3 separate regions of the Homo sapiens genome follow, and all the other regions are linked to region 3. Evidence: promoter capture Hi-C in 16 types of primary human blood cells and fetal thymus (Javierre and others, 2016). All regions are on one chromosome and are shown on one strand. Each heading gives the region's core, a stretch centred on a gene start or on the middle of the fragment in contact. The rest is flanking DNA. Distances are from core to core; before and after follow the strand shown.

Region 1 (2,700 bases), core at 72-2,571, 390 kb after region 3:
ATGTGTTAGACATTGTGTTAAGCATTTCACACCAAGTGTTCCCCTCAGGTAGTCTTAGGAGAAATTTTATCTGGGTATTGTGACTAATTTTTTAATGTTGATTTTTTTCTCTTAAAAATATGGATTCAACTTTTCAAGGCTAGGTTGGGCATGATGGGTTGTGCCTGTAATTCCAGCACTTTGGGAGCCAGAGGCAGGTAGATTGTTTGAGTTCACAAGGGGCAACACAACGAAACCCTGTCTCTAGAAAAAATACAAAAATTAGCCGGTGGTGGTGTATGCCTGTAGTCCCAGCTACTTGGGAGGCTGTGGTGGGAAGATGAGTTGAGCCTGGGAGGCAGAGGTTGCAGTGAGCTGAGATGGCACCACTGCACTCCAGCCTGGGCAGTAGAGCCAGACTTTGTCTCCAAAAATAAAGTTTTCAAGGCCACAGTGCAAAAAGTTTAGAACAATTGAATTTATTTTGGGTTGGTTCATAGACTGCATATTAAAATTTTGTGAATCAGAAGAGAATAAGAATGTTGGGGAAAGTTCTAAGACTATTAGCAAAGGTGATATTGAATCCAAATTTTAGGCCGTGGATTCCTACTCTTTCTCCCTTCAATGAAAGATTTTTTTTCTAATTTAGAACCAGCCAGGGAGCTATACTTCAGATTTCTGTCAGATGGTCACTTAATGTATGGTCCTTTTGGTTTGTAGATAGATACTCTTATTTTTTTCTGCCAAAAAAGGTCCTTATTTTGTACTTAAATCAATTTACTTTTCTATGAGATCCATTAATTGGCCACAGTTGATCCCTAACTTTTCTGCAAGTAGTGATCTCTTAGGAAAAACTAAGCTTTGCTTCCTAAGGTAATTTGGGATTTTTTTTTTTCTTTTTCTTTCTTTGTGTGTGTGTGCGCGCGCGCGCGCGTACACGCACGCGCACACGCGCTTAACTGCTTCTGAATGTTTAGGGGTTTTAAAAACTTTTTTGAGTAACGAGAAATTGGACTCGAGGGTCATCATCTGGCAGTTTTTAGTCTGGTAATTTTCATAGTCATTGAGCCTGATCCTTCTGATGAATACAAAGGAAAATAACTTTAGGGACCAAATTACATTTAAATTAGAAGTTGAAGATTGGAAGGGGACCTCACTGACTATCTAATCCAACCCACTTATTTTTGTAAAAATGAGAAAGAGCCTCAGGAGAGAGAGTGATTTGCTGTAAGTTAAATTGCTAGTCAATGGCAGAGACAATTCTAGAATCCTAATATCCTGACTCCTAGTTTCCAGTTCTTTCTATCATAGTAATGCCCCTGGGCATCACAGAACACTAAAAACCAGTGCTTTACAGCAGGAAGATTGCCAGGAGACGGACCTGGGAGAGCGTGACTAAGGAGGGATTATTTCTTAGGGCAGGGAAAAAGCATTTTGGGAGTCAAAAAAGTTTAATGCTGGCGCAGTTGTAAGCCTAGTTATGGACATACTCCCCGTCTCCATTTAGGATTATATAAGGATTAAATAAATTTTCTGGGGCTTGGAGAGAAGAAATGGGGGTGTATTTTCCGCCTTCCTCCTGTTTTCTGCATGTATTTTTAGGTAAAGATGTGCCAGTTTTTATTGCAGGAATATTAGCCTGAAAAGGTTTATCCAGAATCAGTCGGTTACTTCCTATTGACTTTAAGGATCAGATGAATTGTGATCAACTTTCATAAAATGTGACTGGAATTTAGTGCTGTATGATGAATCAAGAGTGCTCTGAGGGTTGACTTTATGAGCAGCTAATTAAATATACAATAGAGGTCTTGTTCCAGTAAGCTTTTTAATAAGCTTAGAAAAACTTCCTGAAATTCAGATTCTTTCCTTCCATCAGTTTAATGGGAGGAAAAACCCTTCTATAGTGAATAGTTTCATGGGCATATAAGCTATTGTAATATACATGCAGTTTTCTACTCTCCTAATTAAAAAAAATAAATCACAGCCACTTCTATATGTAGTGTAGGTATGTGCACAGTCTTATGTTTATGGGTTTCTTTGTACCTTATATTTACATAGGGGTTTCTAAGTTATATATATTTAAGACATATTCACAACACTCCATAGGGGAGGAAAGTAGATGTTCTTTCCATATTACAGAGGAAGAAAACAAGCATCAGTGTGTGACCTTCCCCCAAATTACACACATATCAAGTGGCAGAAAATGGCTTCCAGTCTCAAGTCCAGTGTTCTTTTCACCGTGTAATATACTAGTATTGTGTGATACTGGCATTGGACAAACCTGGGTTCACATCCTGTCTCTACCCCTCCCCCTTTTTTTCCTAATAACTTTTTATTTTGGAATAATTTGAGATTTACAGAAAAGTTGGAAAAATGGTACGGAGTTCTCATATGCCCCTCACTTAGTTTCCCCCATTGATATTATCTCATGTCAGTGTTTGTCACAACTAAGAAAACTAACATTGGCCCATTACTATTAACTCCAGACTTTATTTGGATTTTGACAGCTTTTCTACTAATGTCCTCTTTTTCAAAAAATTTATTTTTATTTTTTTCTAACCACTAGACAGTAAGGGATAATGTCTTTAATCCAAGGTGTCATATCACATTTAGTTGTCAGTATCTACCCAGTTTCCTCTGGTCTGTCACAGTTTTTCAGTTTCCGTCTTGTTTTTGATGACCTTGACAGTCTTCAGGAGTACAGGTCAGGTATTTGGTGAA
Region 2 (2,700 bases), core at 182-2,681, 380 kb after region 3:
GAGATCTCAAACATTAAAACGGTAAATCTGTGATTCATCATGTGGAAAGAGGAAGAGAGTTTATTCTTGTCTTTCTTGTCTTTTGCTAAATTACAGTCATGCATTGCTTAATGACTGGATATCTTCTGAGAAATGCATTGTTAGGCGATTTTGTCATTGTGTGAACATCATAGAGTGTACTTAATTAACATAAACCTACATGGTATAGCCTATTATACACCTAGGCTATATGGTATGACCTTTTGTTCCTAGGCTACTAACCTGTACACCATGTTACTATATTGAATACTGTAGGCCGTTGTGACACAGTGGTATTTGTATATCTAAATATACCTAAGCATAGAAAAGGTACAGTAAAAATACAGTATCATAATCTTACGAGACCATAGTCTTATACGGGGTCAGTCTCTAAAACATTGTTATTGGGTGCATGACTGTATTTCTAAGTGCATAATATGTGGAAACTATGAAACAACCTCACTAGTTTCATGAGGGTAAGTTGTTTGACCAGAAATTTAAAATCTATAGTTGAAAAACAGTCATGTGGAGTTATTTTGGCTCTGCAAAAGCAGTTAATGGTAGCCAGTTTATCTGTGAAACTAGAACCTTTACCTGCCAGCAGAGATTCAGATCTTTTCATTAAGGCCAAGTTTAAAAAATCTGTTTAAACATGCCAAGAAAGTAAAAATTGGCAAAATTATAGGTTTTCCTGTTTTTATATTACAGATTACCTGTTGGAATTTTAAGTCTTGGATTTGTTTTCCCTAAATAGAAAGTGCATTACTGGGGCCAGTTATTGTCCACTAAATGAATGAAAATTAATTTAAACATTGTAACCTTATGGAAAATATAATTGGAAGGGTTAAATTGTTGTTCTTTATGTCCTTGTACATCCTCTCTCCTGCACTCATCTCTCAGGGCTGGTAGGAGTGGGATAGATGTGTGTTTCCAAACCGAATAGAAATATATCTTGATCCATCCATGATTCTGTTCTGTATATTATTGTGTGGACATTCATGAGTCTCTAATTCAGTTTGTCAAATATTTACTTAAATGTATATACAGAACATTGTAGCAGGAAATTTAAGAGGTGCAAAGAATGAGACTCATGTCTTGTTCTTATGGAGCTGTGCTCCAGTAAAAGAATAACATGTATGTTGTGTATGTGTGTCTATGAATAGCTCTAAAAATCTGTGATAGAAATTATGAAAGGCAAATAGAAGCTGTTTGAGGTTTTAATGTCACTCAGGTGGACATTGTTTTCATTCTAACAACCTGCAGTTTTTGTTTACCATGTCCTGGATGTGGTTCTGTACAGTGGGTAATACAGGTAAGGGTAAGATATGCAGCTCCTATATCCAAGGAAATTCTAGTCTAATTGGTCATATTTTAGTGAGAACAGAGTTTTAAGAGAAATTTTCTAAATAAGAATTCATATAAAATTACAGAAGTACATTTTATGGATTAAGACTATACCCCAAGCCTCTGTAGTATAACTGCTAGGATCACTTGGATTGAGCACATAGGATTGAAATACAGGATTAAACACTTTCAGTTGGTCAGTCAGGGAGGATGCATAATATGCTATAGGCTTTCAGCCAACAGGGATTACTCTTCTGTTGTGGAAATTGCTGGTGAATGGTGATGAGGCAGCAATAGGATAGCATTCTTTTTTTTTTTTTTTTATTTTTTTATTTATTTTTATTTTTTTTATTATACTCTAAGTTTTAGGGTACATGTGCACATTGTGCAGGTTAGTTACATATGTATACATGTGCCATGCTGGTGCGCTGCACCCACTAATGTGTCATCTAGCATTAGGTATATCTCCCAATGCTATCCCTCCCCCCTCCCCCGACCCCACCACAGTCCCCAGAGTGTGATATTCCCCTTCCTGTGTCCATGTGATCTCATTGTTCAATTCCCACCTATGAGTGAGAATATGCGGTGTTTGGTTTTTTGTTCTTGCGATAGTTTACTGAGAAGCTGGGTGAATAATCTGAACGTAAGGTTACAGGTCGGCAGAAGTCAGGCAGTCATGAGTGGGGGCAGTACTTTTCAGAGTACATTTGGGACTAGATATCACAGAGTGTAGTGCTTTGCTTAATTTCCTTTTTAAATATCAACTTTTTAATGAATTCCATTCCAGTAGTTTGTATTATTTTCTTACACATGGTTTTTTGTGAGAGCTGATAGAAACCTTAATCTTTTCAGGTATTTTTGGTTAGAGATGTTATTTCTGTATTTCTTTATTGTTTGATATTTATTTTTACTATATAATGTATCTATTTTCTCTTTATTTAGAGCCTAAATGTTGATAAATGTAACCTTTCATTTCTCTGTTTTTTTTTTCCACTTTTTTTCTCAGATTGATTCTTAGAAACCAGCTACCTATCATTTTTTTCTAAACCCTGTGAAAGTTTTAGGGTGGGGTAGGGCATTTATGAGAAATGTTGTGTTTGCTAAGAAAAAAAAAAAATCTCTGTCCTTTGAAATGCCAGGAACAGAACCTGGACACTGAGTGAATTTGCAACTCCTCCTTTTCCAAGCTCTTTACCTGCTGGTTTGTAGGAATAGGATCCACATACTTGAGTGAGGTTGGTGTCTTGAGGTGAAACCGGGCCTGAGAAACATTGGAGGTCTAGGGCTTATTTTCCAGATAGAATTGAGTCTTTGTTGGTCTTGGGCCAGCTTCCCTGC
Region 3 (2,700 bases), core at 1-2,500:
AGTGGGAGGATGTTTCTGCTGGTGGGGAGGGAGAGGTGAGGCGCATTCTGAGGCCTTGGGTTTGTTGGGGGTTCACATTATGCCTGGGGATTCACATCCCTTGTGACTCCTGGACTGTGGGCCCGGACTGTGGGGGTGGGAGAGGACGGGCAGGGTGCCACTACCCCCCACCCCGCCCTTTCTCCCCGCGCGAGGCTGGCTGATGAGTGTCATTTTCTTCTTGGATTTCGCGCCTACGGGCGGTGTGCCCCTTCCAAGGCCCCCACCTCCGCTCTGTGAGGGCAAGATCTGCCGGTGTCCTAATCCCTTTTCCATGTCTGGGCGCACAGATCCAACTTTCCCGGAGAGGCAGCTCCGCGCCATCCCCTAGGATGAGAAGAGGGTGGGTGGCTGTGTGTGTGTCGGGGAGACAGACAGGGGCCAGGGCTCCGGGCTGCTTTCCAGGCAAGCGTGGACAGGACCCCCCCCTTAACCCCCGCCCCGGGTCCGCGACAGGGAGCGGTGAGGCTTTTCTTCGGCCCTGGTCCCCGGGGCCACGCAGGATGTCCGCCGGGCTGGGGTTGCGCACCCGGGGCCTCCGCTGAGCGCGTGCGGAGAGGGGCGCGGCCTCTCCCGCGGGGCCACCGGGCGGGTCCCGGCGGGGGCGGGGGTACTCGCGGTGTCCGGGCCCGCCCCAGCCCTGCCCCGCCCCGGAGCCGCCCGGGACGCAGGGAGGAGGGAAGGAGGCTCGGCCCCAGCTACCCGCGGCGCCGCGCTCCTCCACGCTCCGGGAGGGTAAGTGGCACGGGGCCGGGAGGCCAGGCCTGGGGCCGGGGGCCGGGGGCCGGGGGCCGGGCGGGTGGGGTCCTCAGCCCCTGGCCCAGCTCTGACACAGCCCCGGGAATCGGGGGCGCCGAAAGTCTGGGGGACCTGGGGAGGCGCGCCCGGCGCGGGGGCGGGGGCCCCGGCGTGACAGCTGCGGGCGGGCGGGTATTTTTAGTTTAAATCCAACCGTTCTGTGCTGGCTGCGAAATTCCCGAGCCTTTCCTTTCAACCCCGGGGAGCTTCGGCCGGCCCACAAGAAAAAGCCCTAAAGCCCCGGGCAGCGCGCCCCAGCGGGCCGGGTGCCTCCTCGGGGCTTCCCTCTGCCTCCCCTAGGGGCGGGCTGACCTGTCACCAAGGCTTGCGCGCGGCGGGGGCCCAATCCGCTCCTGGCGACCGCGAGCGCGCTCAGTAGTGCCTGGGAGAGCAGAGCAGGCGGCGAAGAGGGGAAGTCCAACCCCGAATGCTCAGTTTCGTTCAGACGCCTTTTGGCTATGCAAACTTGGCAAGCAGCTCAACCTCTCTGAGCCTCATTCCCACATTTCTAAAGGGGAGGGCAGTGAGGCCAGAGATGGCTTGCAGGGCCTGAGAGAGCCTCAGATGGATGTTGACTTCCCCTGGGGTCTTGGGATCTTGACCCCAAACAGCAGACCCATTGATGTGGCCCATTGGTCAACCCGGGAGCAGTGTCCTACACCGCCCAGCTGACCTCTGCTTCAAAACTGGAAGCCAGGGGCCTCCAGCCTGGGCGGGGTGATAATGAATATTTTCAGTTAACCACTTTGGCCCTGAAGCTCCAACCCTGGGCTTTCCTGGGACTCTCCCAGGTTCCTGGTCACCCCTTTCAACTCTGAAGGGTCACCCTTATCCCTGCACTGGGTGGGGGGGCTTTCTACAGCCAAGGGCTGCTAGTGGGATAGCTTGATGTGTCTTGGGGGCATGCCCCATCCCACATGAATGAGGGCATGAGGAGAATGGACCGTCCTCCCAGAAAGGAGAGCATGTCATAAAATCACTGCCATTCTGAGCTTGGCAGGACAGCGTCCTTCATCCACCAAGAGAAGCAGAAACAGGCCCAGAGAGGGGGAGTGATTTGCCCAGAGCCACACTGCCTGGCTCTCTTGAAGGGCCTGGGCTTGCCGCCTGCACTTCCAGGGCAGCCAACAGCCCATAGGAGTCAGGAGCTGGGAGGTGGGAGGGGCATATCAGTGCCAACGAGCTGTTTTGCTCAGTTTCCTGTCACTGTGCCCCAGCGGGATGCTCCAGCACATGTGGGTCTGCACATTCCTCAGGCCGGACGGTGCTCGGCAGGCTGACAGCCACAGCTGTGCCAAGCCTGCTGGCCCCAGGCGTTGTTTTCAACCAGAGAGGCCCCTCTGGGGGTGGCTGAGCGGGAAGTGGGCTGGGATGTCTTATTTCTGGAACTCGTGTCTTGCTGGGGGTCCTGAGAAGAAGGCCTGAGGATGTGTTGGTGGCACAGAGGGAAGTGGTGAGAATCCAGGCTCAGGTTTCTGCCTCCAGGTACAGTCTGGCACCTGGCTCCCTGCAGGTACACTTCAGAGTGAGTTGGAGTCCTTTCTGTCTGTCTCCATGGGAACAAGGCTCCTGCTCGGGTGCTTTGCATGCTCTCCAGCAGCCATGGACCTGGCCATGCCTGGGCAGCCCCTTTGCCTTGTGATGCAGCCTGGAGCGGGCTGCCGGGGGGCCCTGGCTTGGCGGCCCCGGGAGGCAAGACTGGGCAGGCCCAGCTCAACGTCAAAAGCACCCTGGAGCCTTTGGGAACCCACTGGGCAGCTAGGCTTCCCGCATTGTCCAGCTGTTAGGAATGGGGCAGTCAAGTTGGATTGCCTGAGTCCAGTCCTGCCTTAGCCCGTTCCTGGCTGTGTAGCCTTGGGAAAG

What was found. The method cuts DNA at HindIII sites, captures the fragments that hold promoters and counts their contacts. A CHiCAGO score of 5 or more calls a contact.
Region 1: a fragment that was not itself captured here is called in contact with the fragment with the promoter of SYNE3-AS1 in region 3 in 1 of 17 cell types (M0 macrophages); the score reaches 5.2 in M0 macrophages.
Region 2: a contact is called between a fragment that was not itself captured here and the fragment with the promoter of SYNE3-AS1 in region 3, in 3 of 17 cell types (M0 macrophages, monocytes and total B cells). The highest score is 5.7, in M0 macrophages.

Annotation. Positions count from the first base shown.
Region 1 is chr14:95,121,148-95,123,847 of GRCh38, reverse strand. The region is part of intron 8 of DICER1 (dicer 1, ribonuclease III); the gene reads left to right. Among named protein-coding and RNA genes, the nearest start is that of MIR3173, 15 kb to the left of the region's middle. The HindIII fragment of the contact is 962 bases long and covers 841-1,802 here.
Region 2 is chr14:95,137,980-95,140,679 of GRCh38, reverse strand. All of the region lies in intron 1 of DICER1 (dicer 1, ribonuclease III), which reads left to right. It overlaps MIR3173 (microRNA 3173), which reads left to right and starts at 2,694; the gene lies at 2,694-2,700. The HindIII fragment of the contact is 3,001 bases long and covers 1-2,700 here.
Region 3 is chr14:95,514,670-95,517,369 of GRCh38, reverse strand. It overlaps SYNE3-AS1 (SYNE3 antisense RNA 1), which reads right to left and starts at 1,250. Exons shown (of 2, transcript NR_188030.1): 1 at 1,150-1,250; 2 at 1-366. It overlaps SYNE3 (spectrin repeat containing nuclear envelope family member 3), which reads left to right and starts at 720. Exons shown (of 18, transcript NM_152592.6): 1 at 720-774. RefSeq lists silencers at 465-1,274, 1,024-1,318. The HindIII fragment of the contact is 27,487 bases long and covers 1-2,700 here.